4 separate regions of the Homo sapiens genome follow, and regions 1, 2 and 3 are each linked to region 4. Evidence: promoter capture Hi-C in 16 types of primary human blood cells and fetal thymus (Javierre and others, 2016). All regions are on one chromosome and are shown on one strand. The core of a region is centred on a gene start or on the middle of the fragment in contact, and the rest is flanking DNA. Distances in the headings are between cores, read along the strand shown. Region 1 holds the start of TNFSF12 (TNF superfamily member 12). Region 2 holds the start of CD68 (CD68 molecule). Region 3 holds the start of KCTD11 (potassium channel tetramerization domain containing 11). Region 4 holds the start of TRL-TAG1-1 (tRNA-Leu (anticodon TAG) 1-1).

Region 1 (3,336 bases), core at 768-3,267, 570 kb after region 4:
TCTGAGACTGATGGCCGGGAAGGGAGTGGGAGGTCAAAGGTTTTCAAGGGCCCTTTTCCCAGGAGGCCAGTGCTGTGTCGGGGGATGGGGTCTCACCTGCCTGCGCTCCGTCCTGTCCAGGTCGTGGATGAACTGTAAAGTACAGGAAAAGGCTGGTGAGACCTGCCCTGACCCTCTGCCACCTGCCCCTCTCCTCCTGGGTATGGCTCACCCATCACCCACCTTCATAATGGGCTGCGATCGCTCTTCGAGCCCGTGTTTTCCGGCCTTTAGGTGCTGAGGATCAAGGAAAGACAGATGAGCAAAGCGGGCCCTAGTGGGGGTCCCAGAGCAACTCTCCCAGCCCCATTCCCCTCTCAGGAACCCTGGCATCCTTATTCTTGTCCAGACTCCTGGCCTTAGAATCTCAGGCCTCATCTTCCTCAGTAAGTAGAGTGACTATAATTTGTCATCCACACTGGGATACTGCTGAGAGCAAAACGGGAAGCTGCTATTAATCACACCGAGATAACAGGTGGGGGCCAGGACAACTGCATGCCGACTTGGACACGTGGTCATCCGGCCACCCCATCATCCCATTCCTAAGTCTCTTTGCCTACCGGGGCCCAGGCCTCTGACTGCCAGGCCTAGTCTCCATCAGGATCCCAGTAGTTCTTCTAACTCATGGCCACCCTGCCTTCCTGTTTGGGGTAGGGTCTGAAGGAGCACATCCATATGACAGAAGGAGCTTCAGAGGAGGGCGAGAATCCCTAGGTTTGAGTCTTGGCTGGTTAGCTGCATGACTCTGAACTCCTTTCACCCTCCGTGCCTCAGTTTCTCCCTGTGGATAATGGTTTTTGCTCTGCCCGCTTCCTGAGGTTGGGATAGAGGGATGCTCACCACTTCTGCGAGGCCGAACTAGTCGGTTCAGGAAAGGCGCAGGATCCTGGCTTTCTTCTGTCTGGGGATTCAGTTCCTAGGGGAATTAGGGCAGGGTTCAACCACAGACTCCCAGAGATATAAAGTGAGACATACGGGGCCTGTCAGGAGAGCCACCAGCCAGCAATAGACACAGAAGTCAGGGACAGATTAAGCCCCTCAGCCAACTACAGCTGGGGCCCCGGGCAAAGGTGAAGCTGGGAGTCAGGCCCCAGTCCTCACCCTTTCCTCTAGACCAGCTACACTTTCCCACCCACACACACAACCAACGCAGACCCTGCATTCAATTGGCACATTGCACACATGCCCGCACCCAGTCACCACGCACAGAGGATACACACCCTGTACACAACCGCACCCCTCTTCCACGCAGACTCACATATCTTATACAACCACGTCACCCCCAGCCAATAAACACCTCAGACTCAGGTGGCACAACCCCAGCACAAACCCCTCACACAGAGTTGTCACCACGCACACACACCCCTGCAGACACGCACCCATGCACGCACTGTGTTCACACACACCCTGCACACACCTCGAGTACGGCTGGCACAGCTGCACACACCTGCAGCCTCGGCTGTGCACACTTCCCATGCCCCAGCAGCCTGCAGACCGCGCCCACGCCCACTCACCGACGGGTCCTGGTCCTCCTCTGCCACCAGCTCCTCCTGGGCAGGCTCCTGCTGGGAAGGAGGGAGCGTCACCCTGTGCCGCTCCACCTGACATCTCACCCTCCACCCATCCTCCCTTCCCCTTGCCTTCAGCCCACGCGGCCCCCAGCGGCCCCTCTGCAGTCTCAGCTCCTGATGTGCCCAAGAAGGGGTGCGCAGCGGGGCCTCACCTGGGCGGACAGCGATGCCCGGCTCCCCAAACTGACCACGGCCAGCAGGAGGCCGAGGCAGGCCAGCGCCAGGCCCAGGCCCAGCGCGAGCGGGACCAGCAGGGCGGTGCCCGGCTCCCCCCGGCGCCCCCTCCGCCTCTGGCTCCGACGGGCGGCCATGGGGGCGGGGGGCTGTGCCTGCCTCACCGCCCCCCCATCCCGGGACCCGAGGGATCGGGGGAGGGGGAGCCGGCGGGCGGATCGGGCCGGGGAGAGGGAGGGGCAAGGGAAACGGGGCGGGAGGGGGCGCTGGGGACAGGAAGCCGGACGCTGTGTGTGATCAAACTCCGAGCCTCTCGCCGGGCGCTGTGCGCGCAGCGAACGGAGTGGGCGCCCACCCGACCTCTGAGCGCCCAGCCCGGGCGTGCACCACCAGGGCGAGGTCCGTTGCGTGCGGCCGCGGGAGCGACGGGGCTATGCGTGTGCGGGCACCTCCTGCGGGGAGGTGGGGAACTCAGGAAGGCCTGTTGGTTCAGATTCTTCTGTGTCCCTGTGTCTTCAGAGATAAGGACCCTCCTTTCCCCCAGGTGCAGGGAGGGCGCCTCTCGCAGGAGGCTGTTATTTGCTTCTTCAGGAAAAGGGCAGGGAGTTCCAGGTTGTATGACCTGGTTCAGGGAAGAAGGGCAGGAGAAGGTAAGAAAGATCCTTCGGCTTCTGCGGTTTTCTCAAATTCCTTCAGCTTAAAACACTCACTGTGCCGGTAGCACGTTCTGAAGCCCATCATTACCAATGATTGCCAAGCATCTGAGGAGGACCAGCAGCATGCAAAAGAAACACCAAAATTGGTCCGGCAGGTGGCTTACGCCTGTAATCCCAGAAGGCCAAGGCTGGGGGCCAGGAGTTCAAGATCAGCCTGGGCAAGAGCAAGACCCCATCTCTACAGAAAAGTTTTAAAAAATTAGCCCACGCCTGTAGTCCCAGCTACTCAGGAGGCCGAGGTAGGAGGATTGTTTGAGCCCAGGAGTTTGAGGCTGCAGTGAGCTGTGATTGCACCACTACACTCCAGCCTGGGCAACAGACCTTGTCTCAAAAAGAAAGAAAGAAAGGAAGAAAGAAAGAAAGGAGGGAGGGAGGGAGGGAGGGAAGGAGGGAAGGAAGGAAGGAAGGAAGGAAGGAAGGAAGGAAGGAAGGAAGGACCAAAATTGGCTGGGCGCGATGGTTCACGCCTGTAATCGCAGCACTTTGGGAGGCTGAGGCGGGTGGATCACGAGGTCAGGAGATCGAGACCTGCCTGGCCAAGATGGTGAAACCCTGTCTCTAATAAAAATACAAAAAAATTAGCCGGACGTGGTGGCAGGCGCCTGTAGTTCCCAGCTACTCGGGAAGCTGAGGCAGAGAATTGCTTGAACCCAGGAGACAGAGGTTGCAGAGAGCTGAGATCACGCCACCACACTCCAGCCTGGGCAACACAGCAAGACCCTATCTCAAAAAAAAAAAAAAAGAAAGAAAGACCAAAATTAACAAACAAAATTTGACATTGGAGGAAACAGAGATAATTCAGGATACAAAGAGTACTACCTAATATACTTAAAGAG
Region 2 (3,195 bases), core at 678-3,177, 540 kb after region 4:
ACCCCCCCACCACACCCCAACCCCCTCAGTGCCCTGGGGTTTGAAGCAAATGCTCAGAGGGCCTGGTAGGCGGATGGGCGTCTCCGGATGATGCAGAAAGCAATAAGCACCAGGGCGAGGAGGCCAAGAAGGATCAGGCCGATGATGAGAGGCAGCAAGATGGACCGGTCACTGGGGCAGGAGAAACCTGGCGGAAGGATAGGGCAGGTAGGTATTTGCAGTGACGTGCTGGTTGGGATAAAGGTGGGAGGAGGGAATGGGGGGATGCTGGGGAGTAGGAGATTGGTGAGGAGCTCACCGCAGTGACTCAGCAGTGATAAAAGGGGGAAACTGGCAGAGTCTTGTAGAGGATGGAAAGAAAGCTGCCCTGTAGCCATGACAAGCTGGGAGAGCGAGATTTGGGGGGTTAAGAAGAGAGATGAGTGGCTTATGGGCCTGGGGAAGGGGTTTTCAGTGCAGTGGGAGGATTCTAGGAGGGAAGGAGTAGGTAGGTCTTACTTTGCCCAAAGACCCCTGTGTGGGGCAGCTGAGCAGCCTGGAGCCTCAGGGAGAGCAGGTCGAGGTGGACAGCTGGTGAAAGAATGATGCTCGAGTTGCTGCAACTGAAGCTCTGCCCCAGGGGTGCTTGGAGATCTCGAAGGGATGCATTCTGAGCCGAGAATGTCCACTCTGGAGGAGTGAGGAAGGGTCAGATCCTATCCACCTCCCTGGCCCCAGCTTAGTCCTTTCAGGAACCCTGGCGTCTAGTGGTAGCAATGAGAAAGGGAAGGAGGTTACTTACGTGCTGCGTGGGGGAAGGACACATTGTACTCCACCGCCATGTAGCTCAGGTAGACAACCTTCTGCTGGAGGTCCTGTGGGGCGAAGAGGAAGGCGCAGGTGGTATCCCTCTCCACAGAGGAAGGAGTAGCGTGTGGGATTGGGAGGGGAGGGGCGCCGGGAGGCTGAGTGAGGGGTGAGACTGAGGTCATGGCTATACCTGCATGAATCCAAAGCTGAGGTGTCCATAGGGGAATGAGAGAAGCAGGTGGGGATGGGCACCCTCACAGCTTCCCTGGACCTTGGTTTTGTTGGGGTTCAGTACAGAGATGCCCCAGGCCTGCGGAAGTTAAAGACTGGAAGGTCACAAGACTGCATGCGATGCCGGCCAAGGTTCCCTGTCCCCTCTTCCTTCTTCCCTCTGAGCCTATATCCAGTCCTGCCTCCCTCCCCTCTCATCCCCCAGTTTTAGCTTTACCTCTCCTCCACCCTGGGTTGTGTACATGACTCGAATCTGAATCTGGGCTTGGAGGTGGACACAGGGCTGGGAACCATTGGTCCACGTGTAGTCTCCAATGGTCTCCTTGGAGGTTGGGCTAGGACTCGGAGAGGGTGGAGGTGGTTCTGGGTGGGCAGAACTGGTGAATCCTGGGCTGGTGGCAGTGCTGTTGCTTGTTGGATGAACCGTGGCATTTCCATGACTAGTGGTGGCAGGACTGTGAGTGGCAGTTGAGGGTCCCTGGCTGGTGGCAGTGCTATTGCTTGTTGGATGAACTGTGACGTTTCCATGGCTGGTGGTGGTGGGGTTGTGAGTGGCAGTCGTGGGTCCGTGGCTGGTGGTGCCTGTGGTGGTTGTCCTGTGAGTGGTGGTTTTGTGGCTCTTGGTAGTCCTGTGGCTGGTTGTTCCAGTGCTCTCTGTAACCGTGGGTGTCACCGTGAAGGATGGCAGCAAAGTAGCTGATTTTTTGTGAGGACAGTCATTCCCTGTCCCCTGGGCTTTTGGCAGAGAGGAGATGGTTAGCAACCCAGGGCAGGCTCCCTCCCAGGGGCCCCCTCCCCTCAGCCTCCTTCCTCCTTACCTGCCAGTAGCCCCAGCAGGGCCCCCGAGAAAAGCACAGCCAGCCTCATGGCTGAACCGCCTCACCCAAAGTCCAGCTAGGCTGTCTGCACCAGTTGCTCAACCCTGCTCCCTCAGCCCTCTCTTGGAAAGGAGGAAATGAAAGTCTCACTTCCTGTACTGGAGATGATCCCACCCACAGCCTGACTCAGGGGCCTCAGCTCTAGCCACCTCTCTCTTAGTCATTAGTTTTTGTAATTAAGTTAGGGGACTGTTGGCCCTGCTTCATCAGGGCAAAGTCAACAGTGTCACATGGGTGCAAACGGAGTCCTAGGGCAGTTGATCCACAGGGATCCATGTGTCAAACTCAGCGAAACTTGCTTGGCAGTTGTGGCAAGTAGCTATGGGAACAGCTGAGGTACAGGCCCCTCCCTTGGTGGGGAAATCGGTTTCCACTCCTTTCCCCTGGACCTCTGGGCTGACCCCTGTACTACTTCCTCTTGGCTGAGGCATGTGAGGGGCTTGTGACCATCCACACCCAGCCCTTTACAGAGGGGCAGCACTCCAGTCAGCATTGTCATTCACAGAGCCGAGAACATGGCTTTCCAGCGTCTGAGAACTCAGATGGTGACAAGAAAGCAACAGCCCAAAGGTAACCATCTGCTGGGGAAGGGGGGAGCAGAGATGCACCCAGTAGCAGGTGGGAGAGGGAAGGGGAGGTAAGAAATGAGAAGCCCAAACAGGCAGTTTCCAAGTCATTTTATTCAGAATTTTGTGTTTGTTTCCTGAATCAATAAATACTATACAAAACAATGTAAAAATGGCTACCATTTTCTCTCCCCTGCTTCCCCCCACCTGGGGACAACCCCCTGGGCAACCTCACTTAGGGGTTTTAGGGGTTCTCCCTCCAGATTTGGTCCAGCAAATGAGGCTGAGTGACATAGTCCCTTGAATCACTTTCAAAGGAGCTCAGCTGAGGTGAGGAGAGCCTCTGGGATCTGGAGGTTACTAGGTTAGGGAAATGGATTAGTGTTTTTTTTTTTTTTTTGGGAGAAGAGCCGGCGCCTGGGGCAAGAGCCTACCCCAAAGAAAAGGGTGTCTAAAATGTTCACGGTTCCTTCTTTTGCCTCAAAAAGTGACATTTATTCAAAGAAAAAAAATGACAAGATGTCCATCCCTTGGCTCCCTTCCCTCCCCCCTCCTGCTGCTCCTCAGCCCCCAGAGATTGAGCCCTGGCTGGGGCTGGGTGGCAGGACAGCCCCTCAGATGAGGTCAGCAACATTGAGGGGCATTTCCTCAATGGAGGTGTTGTAGAAGGTCTCAATGTCTCGAAGAGTCCTCTTGTCTTCTTCTGTCACCATGTTAATAGCCACACCTTT
Region 3 (3,499 bases), core at 35-2,534, 770 kb after region 4:
TCGGGGAGTTCCACGGGGCGGGGGGCCCACTCCAGATGAAAATGTGGGCTCCCCTCTGCCCTATCCCCACTGGCCACACCAAATCGGGCCCGCAAAGCACCTAGACACTCAGAGTCGGTGCAGAAAAGGTTGGCTCGGAAGGTGTCCACCTGGACGGAGCTCAGCTCATAGTGATGGGGTCCCCGGCGAGCAGAGAAGTGCACCAGGCGGGGGCTGACATCTACATCTGCGTGGAGCAGGGCAGCTGTGGGTGCAGGGGTCCCCTGAGAGGCCTCCAGTTCCCGCAGCGCGTCCAGGAGGGGCCGGATCTGGTAGAAGTCAGCCTCTGCCCTGAGCAGCGCTGTCTCTCCGTACCCACGGGGCAGGTCCAGGCGGCCCAGCCTCAGGAAATTGAGGATGTGCCGGAAGGCCTTGCCATCCCGGTCGATGAAGTAGTGGCCGCCTCCTTGGGAATTGAGGTTGGGGGGCATGGGGGTGCCGGCCCTAAACATGGCCCCCAGCATAGAGTCTGGGAAGCGGGTCAGGGTCTCCAAAGTGGTGGAATATAGTGTGCCCCCCACATTCAGGGTCACGGGGCCCCCAAAGGAGGGGGGCGAAGAGGGCACAGGAGGAGGAGAAATTTTGGGAAGTACAGGAGACACCGAAAGAAAAGAAAAGGCAGAACTTCCTGGGTGTGTGCAGAATTGGGTCGAAGCTGTCAGATTCGCTGGGTTGGAGGCACAGGTGGAGCACACCCAGTAAGGTTTGGGGCTCACCCCGGCTACTTTGGTGGTGGATGGGGAGGTGGTGTCAGGACACAGAAATCCCCAAAAGGTTGAGAGAAGAGATGAAAAGAGCAGAGGGCAGCCAGAGAGGGGAAGGGAGCTTGAGGTCTGGACGTATCCGATTTGGGGTGGTCAGCGACACCCCTCTGTGGTCTTCAGACAGTGGGTTTCCGGAATCCAACCAGCAGGTGACGGTGGCGAGCACAGGGCCGACTCTGAAGGGATGGCCTCCGAGACCCCGGGCAGATCGCTGCCGCCGTGGACGAGTCCAGCCAGGGCTCTGGGGCCACTCAGAGGCCTGGCCTGGCTGCCGGCGCGGGTCCCAGGAGATGGAGGCCGAACTGACGGGAGCGGATGGCGGAGCCCCCTTGTATCCGCCGGGGAGCGACGATGCGTGCTCAGCCCGGGCTGGGAGTGTCCGAGGGCTCTGATGGAAACAGCCAGGAGTTTCGGGACCCGGCCGCGCCGCCTTCCCTGGGTGTCGCCGCAGCCGCTGAGGTCCTCTCCGCCCCCAGGAAGTGGCCTAAGGGCAGCGGCCCGGGGCCCTTTAAGAGACAGCCCCGCCCCTTGGCGCCCCGCCCCCGCCCCCGCGAGGCTCGCGCGGCCCGGGCGGAGGTGGGAGGCTGGAGGCGAGTCTCGGACGCGAGAGACTGGGCGGACTGGCTGGACTGGCAGACGCTGGCGGGACGGGGTGACTCAGGCACGTCGCCCCGGATGTGGCCACGACCGCCCCGCCGCCGCTCAGGTGTGCCCGATCTCACGTCTGCAAGTCGGCGGGGCTGGAGCCTCTAATCCCACCGCTCAGAGCCCGAGGCCCGGCCGGCCCAGCCCGGGAGCCGAGTCCCTCCCAGCGGCTCCCCCGGGGAATTCCCGAGGGGGCGGGTGCTGAGCCGCCGCATTCCGGGGATGCCTTCCAGCCGGGGTGGCCCGGGCGCGCTCTCTCCGCGGCGGCGCGGGGCCAGCGAGCCCCAGGGCCAGCCCCACCCCTCGGCAGGACTGGGCTGGCCACGTCGCCCCAGCCCGAGAGCCCCCGCCCCGCAGCGCCCTGCGCTCAGGCCGCGGCCGAAGCTGCCGCCTCGCTCCCCGGAGTCGCACCTTGCTGGACTGGAGCTCGCAAACCCCCAGCTGCTCCCCGCACCTCGGGAGCCGCAGCGCCCAACACCCTACGGGCCCGAAGGTGGCGCCCAAGAAGTGAACCAGAAGGGAAGAGCGAAGCACGGAGGCTTTAATGGCAGAGGGCCCGGTGGCGGGGAAGGGAGGCAGGCGCGGGCCCCGTGGGCCTCGGGTCACAGCGTGTGGAGGTCATGACTGCGACGGCTCAGCTTCTCCGGGTCGTCTGACGCCATGAGGGAGAAGTCGCGGAAGATGTCAAGATACGTCTCATCTCCTGGGGGAGGGAGGAAAGGCCGGGAGGCGGCTGGGCCCCAGTGCAGAAGGGCAGGATCCGGCGGTTGGGGCCCACCTGGGGACCTCGCGCTCCGAGCCTGGGTGGGAACGTGCGCGCCGCGGGCACTGCGCCAGCACCTATGCCTTGCCAGGGCCTGGCACGTCGCATGCGCCCAATACGCATTTGTTAAATAACGGAATGAATGCAGCTGGGCACTAGGGAGAGAGGTCACCGTGGACCAGAAGCCCAGAGTTCAGGTGTTGGGCCTGGGGGGTGGGGTGGGTGTATTCTTTACCTGCCTGCCCCTGGGCCGCTTCAGCCTCCCTCATCTTTGCCAGTCGTAGCCTGAAGAGGAGGGAATTAAGAAATGAACGACACTATCTTTGGCCGGGCGCGGTGGCTCACGCCTGTAATCCCAACACTTTGGGAGGCCGAGGCAGGCGGATCACGAGGTCAGGAGATCGAGACCGTCCTGGCCAACATGGTGAAACCCCGTCTCTACTAAAAATACAAAAAATTAGCCGGGGGTGGTGGCGCACGCCTGTAGTCCCAGCTACTCAGGGGAGGCTGAGACAGGAGAATCGCTTGAACCCGGGAGGCGGGGGTTGCAGTGAGCCGAGATCGCGCCCCTGCACTCTAGCCTGGGCGACAGAGTGAGACTCCGTCTCAAAAAAAAAAAAAAAGACTATCCTCACCTCCCCCACAACTTCCCATCCTTTGAGCTGGGTTGCGTTCCGTTCATCTGCCCCCACCCCCGGGGTCACGTCTAGTGCTAAAAAGATGCCTGACAGCAATGTTGATGGGCGAATTACGCCTCTCAGGGTGGGCCAAGCATCCTTGCACCCTGCCCGCCCTCCCGCCTGCCTTCTACTCCACGTCCCAGTGCACACTTCGCGCAGCCTTTCTCGAGCCTGGCCCCGGCGCTGGCCCAGCCCCTTTCCGAGGCCCCACAGCACAGGCTTCTGTTTCGGCGTCAGCCCCGCCCGCCCGCCCGAACGTGGGTGGGCGGGGGTGGGGGGAGTCCCAGCGCCAGCCCCGCCCCTTCAGGCATTCTTACAGGGTGACGATGTCAGCGTTGGCTGTTTCCATGGCGATGGTCAGAGGGTCCCTGCCTTCAGAGTCTCGAGCCCCCAGATCAGCTCCCCGTTTCAGGAACAGGCAGGCGAGCCTGGAGAGAAGAGCCAGGGTCAGCCGGCCGCCCAACTTCTCCCAGCCTTCCTCCCCATGCCATCATCCCTACCCCGTGTGGCCAAGAATGGTTGCGTGGTGCAGCGGGCCCCGGCCCGCACTGTCCGCTTGGTTCACGTTCGCCCCGTTCTGGAGGAGAAACTCACAGGCCAGAAGAGAA
Region 4 (3,510 bases), core at 838-3,337:
CGCACGTGCGTGCGCGCAGAGAGTCCCCAAAGTTCTCCACTGAGACAAAGAGAAACTGCACCAGACGGAGACGTAGAGAGAAAAGAGGAGGAGAGACACAGAGAGGGGAGGAGGGAGGACGAGACTGAGAGAGGAGAATGCGAAGATCCGGGGAGGCGAGCTACAGAAACTGATCTAGGGGCATTGGGAGGGGGAGCGGAGAGGGATCGAATGGGGCCGGCCCTAGGCAATCTGGGGTCTTGTGGCCGGGGTGGAAGCCGGGCTCTCCCAGCGGCGGGATCCGACGCCGGGGCGGCCGCACTGAGTCTCGGTCTGGTCGGCCCGCTCTCCTTTTCTCGCTGGTCGCAGATGCTCAAGCCGCTTGTGGAGAAGCGGCGCCGGGACCGCATCAACCGCAGCCTGGAAGAGCTGAGGCTGCTGCTGCTGGAGCGGACCCGGGACCAGGTCAGTCCCTCCGCTAGCCCTAGGTCCCCAAGCTTCCCGTTTCCGCGTCCCAGGGCTTCCCACTGGGGTGGGGACACAAGCTTGGTTGGCAACCCTGGCCCCAAGGCATCCTCACCCGAGTCCCGCCTTTGGAATTCCATCCCAGACCCCCACTCGCTCTCAGAACGCGATCTTCTTCGCCACCCCTCGGGTCTGTAAGTTTCACGCCTGGTTCTGTAAATTTCGCTCCCGGGGTCGGTCAGTTTCACCCTTTGGGTCTCTAAGTGTCCGGTTCCCCCTCCCCCACAGCCAGCCTCTGATGAGCCAGCCTCTGTTATGTCGGGTGGTTAATTTCATTCCCTGGGTTGCGGTTTCAAATCTCCTCCTCACGCGTTGGGCATTGGTTCCAACCCCTAGGATTGGACAGTTTCGTCTCAGGGTGGGCCAGGACTTTCCTTGGTCATCTCCACTCCGCATTTGGTCGCGCGTTCTGTGGGCAGTGCGCAAATGCGATCGGGGGCACCACCAGCTCCCGCATCCGTCCCTCCCTTCTTCCCCCTGCCACTTTCCCCCTTTCTCCCCACCCCTTTCTGTCTCTGCGCCCTCCCCTCCCGTCTGTAGAACCTCCGGAACCCGAAGCTGGAGAAAGCGGAGATATTGGAGTTCGCCGTGGGCTACTTGAGGGAGCGAAGCCGGGTGGAGCCCCCGGGTACAGCGCGGGGGTGGGGCAGCGGAGGGAGGGAGGGGGGACGCCAGGAGGCTCCGGCCGGGGCAGAGTGGGCGGGCCCTGCGGTGGATGGTGGGCTTGGGGAGTGGCCGGTTCTGCTCCGAGGCGAGGTTAATAACACCCGCGCGTGTCTGTCTCTGTGTCTCCCTCATTTTCTCCCTCTTTCCGTCCATCTGGCTTCCTGTCTCTGTGCGCCTGTCCGGCCTTGGTATCTCTGCGCCCCGCCCCTTCCCTCACCCCTGCCGGGCCCCTGCCCTGCCCACCTGTGCTCCCGCCGGCCGCACCAGCCGCCGCGGCTCCAGGGGTTCCCCGGTCCCCAGTCCAGGACGCCGAGGCGCTCGCCAGCTGCTACTTGTCCGGTTTCCGCGAGTGCCTGCTTCGCTTGGCGGCCTTCGCGCACGACGCCAGCCCGGCCGCCCGCGCCCAGCTCTTCTCCGCGCTGCACGGCTATCTGCGCCCCAAACCGCCCCGGCCCAAGCCGGTAGATCCGAGGCCTCCAGCGCCGCGCCCATCCCTGGACCCCGCCGCACCGGCCCTTGGCCCTGCGCTGCACCAGCGCCCCCCAGTGCACCAGGGCCACCCTAGCCCGCGCTGCGCATGGTCCCCATCCCTCTGCTCCCCGCGCGCCGGGGATTCTGGCGCGCCGGCGCCCCTCACCGGACTGCTGCCGCCGCCACCGCCGCCTCACAGACAAGACGGGGCGCCCAAGGCCCCGCTGCCCCCGCCGCCCGCTTTCTGGAGACCTTGGCCCTGAGCCTTGGGGGGTGGTGGGGGCGGGGTCTAGGGGTGGGGTAGAGACTCCAGCCCGAGGGCAGCAGAGGGACCCGGGCGTCCGGGCGAGCAGGTGTTGGGGAGGGCAGTGGGGCGCGCGGGCTCAGCGCGCGGGTGAGATGTGGTCTATATTAGAGTATCTATATAAATATATATTTCCCTGGTTCCTGTCCCTTTTCCCTGCCCCAACTTCTCCCTTGCGTCTAGGATTGTACTCTCTCTGCCCCTCAGCCCAGTCCCAGTCCCTTCCCGAGTCCCTAGTGCATGGAATAAAGTGGTTATTAAATCCCCGTGTGTCCCCGAGCCAGGGGCCTGCCTTTATCTCGACGTCCACGCCCACTTTCCCTTCCCTTCTGTCTCCCACCCTCAGTCCTGCTCTCCATGGCCCAAGCCCCGGGGCAGACAGGTAAGTAAAGAAGAGAGCAGAGCGGGAACTGAGATCGAAATTGAAACCAGGTGGAAAGAGAGAGATAGGGTAGGGGGAGAAGGGATGGGGGCCTTTAAGAAAAAAACGGATAAAAAGGAAAAATTGAAATAAAATCGACTCTGGTGGGATTCGAACCCACAACCTTTGAATTGCTCTATTCGTCACTAGAAGTCCAATGCGCTATCCATTGCGCCACAGAGCCACCCGACGAACGGCGGCGTCTTGTAGCTTACGGGTACTAGAGTGGGAATGGGGCAGGGTTGGGGAGCGGGGCTAAGGGACTTGGGCGGGACATGCCAGGAGGGCGCGGTTTGGATCTCAGAGGCCAAGCCAGGTAGAGGTAGCGGGCGCAAAGCATGTTAGCCAGGTGAGAGAGAGGGCGCACATGGGTCGAAAAAACAGGGAGGGAGAGCAACCGAAAATGGCTGAGCGAGCGAGTGCAGAGCTCCGGCTGCCCGCTTGGGGGGTGTTTCCGGCTCAGGCGCTCCCCACTCCCAGATATAGTCCCACCCAAATAAACTAGTTTTGTTGTAAATTTCTGTGTGTTTTTGTCTCTTCTCGTTTATCTGTTCTGCCATCTGCTGCTATGCGGTCCACAGTCTCGATGGTTCTTCATTTCCAGTCTAAAAGATGTGGAAAAGGAGACGAATCAATTTGGCACTCTTAAGATTTGCCCCATTCCTTACTTCTAGTCTCTTAGGAGGACAACGGGGACAGTAAGTTTTCGTGCAGGTAGCGTGGCCGAGCGGTCTAAGGCGCTGGATTTAGGCTCCAGTCTCTTCGGAGGCGTGGGTTCGAATCCCACCGCTGCCAGGCTGGAGTTTTTCTGGTGGATTACGCACCTGCTACAGTTCTGTTAACAGTTCTGTGAGGTTACACCTATTTACATGCAGAAAGTAATTTTACGAATTCCCCTGGTAATGGTTTCACCATCATCTTCCGTGTTTGGTCTTCCAGAGAGATCATAGGCCTGCATCCATCCCAGAAGCTAAGACCTGATGGTAACTGCTGAAGCAATATTTCGTTTCTTCATAACATCTCTATTATTTCGTTTCTTCATAACATCTCTATTTTAACATGTTTTCAAATGTTAGCTCAACTTCCAACATATTTAAATAATTTATTGTACGTTCTCTTAACACTGTGTTATAGGACTCAATTA

Evidence for each region. Contacts are between HindIII fragments. The CHiCAGO score rates a contact against its expected background, and 5 or more counts as called.
Region 1: the fragment with the promoter of TNFSF12 here is called in contact with a fragment that was not itself captured in region 4 in 1 of 17 cell types (naive CD4 T cells); the score reaches 5.1 in naive CD4 T cells.
Region 2: the fragment with the promoter of CD68 here is called in contact with a fragment that was not itself captured in region 4 in 7 of 17 cell types (total CD8 T cells, fetal thymus, total CD4 T cells and 4 more); the score reaches 9.5 in total CD8 T cells.
Region 3: the fragment with the promoter of KCTD11 here is called in contact with a fragment that was not itself captured in region 4 in 3 of 17 cell types (activated CD4 T cells, erythroblasts and non-activated CD4 T cells); the score reaches 5.8 in activated CD4 T cells.

What each region holds. Positions count from the first base shown.
Region 1 is chr17:7,547,739-7,551,074 of GRCh38, reverse strand. It overlaps TNFSF12 (TNF superfamily member 12), which reads right to left and starts at 2,017. Exons shown (of 7, transcript NM_003809.3): 1 at 1,763-2,017; 2 at 1,554-1,601; 3 at 880-955; 4 at 223-276; 5 at 97-132. The coding sequence starts at 1,921. It overlaps TNFSF12-TNFSF13 (TNFSF12-TNFSF13 readthrough), which reads right to left and starts at 2,017. Exons shown (of 11, transcript NM_172089.4): 1 at 1,763-2,017; 2 at 1,554-1,601; 3 at 880-955; 4 at 223-276; 5 at 97-132. The coding sequence starts at 1,921. RefSeq lists silencers at 1,823-1,902, 1,933-2,122. The HindIII fragment of the contact is 9,939 bases long and covers 1-3,336 here.
Region 2 is chr17:7,578,370-7,581,564 of GRCh38, reverse strand. It overlaps CD68 (CD68 molecule), which reads right to left and starts at 1,927. Exons shown (of 6, transcript NM_001251.3): 1 at 1,839-1,927; 2 at 1,238-1,755; 3 at 980-1,099; 4 at 782-854; 5 at 499-669; 6 at 1-187. The coding sequence starts at 1,887. The coding sequence ends at 54. It overlaps EIF4A1 (eukaryotic translation initiation factor 4A1), which reads right to left. Exons shown (of 11, transcript NM_001416.4): 11 at 2,559-3,195. The coding sequence ends at 3,079. SENP3-EIF4A1 (SENP3-EIF4A1 readthrough (NMD candidate)) reads right to left here. Exons shown (of 22, transcript NR_037926.1): 22 at 2,559-3,195. RefSeq lists enhancers at 1,033-1,102, 1,203-1,262 and a silencer at 2,738-2,926. The HindIII fragment of the contact is 9,128 bases long and covers 1-3,195 here.
Region 3 is chr17:7,349,947-7,353,445 of GRCh38, reverse strand. KCTD11 (potassium channel tetramerization domain containing 11) reads right to left here and starts at 1,284. Exons shown (of 1, transcript NM_001363642.1): 1 at 1-1,284. The coding sequence starts at 620. ACAP1 (ArfGAP with coiled-coil, ankyrin repeat and PH domains 1) reads right to left here. Exons shown (of 22, transcript NM_014716.4): 19 at 3,392-3,499; 20 at 3,209-3,319; 21 at 2,447-2,496; 22 at 1,969-2,151. The coding sequence ends at 2,051. RefSeq lists silencers at 1,206-1,975, 2,026-2,085, 2,156-2,215, 3,096-3,235 and an enhancer at 3,486-3,499. The HindIII fragment of the contact is 3,784 bases long and covers 1-3,499 here.
Region 4 is chr17:8,119,965-8,123,474 of GRCh38, reverse strand. HES7 (hes family bHLH transcription factor 7) reads left to right here. Exons shown (of 4, transcript NM_001165967.2): 2 at 349-444; 3 at 1,045-1,132; 4 at 1,438-2,883. The coding sequence ends at 1,904. It overlaps TRL-TAG1-1 (tRNA-Leu (anticodon TAG) 1-1), which reads left to right and starts at 3,080; the gene lies at 3,080-3,161. It overlaps TRR-TCT2-1 (tRNA-Arg (anticodon TCT) 2-1), which reads right to left and starts at 2,550; the gene lies at 2,463-2,550. RefSeq lists silencers at 1,295-1,404, 1,625-2,084, 3,025-3,234. The HindIII fragment of the contact is 3,122 bases long and covers 527-3,510 here.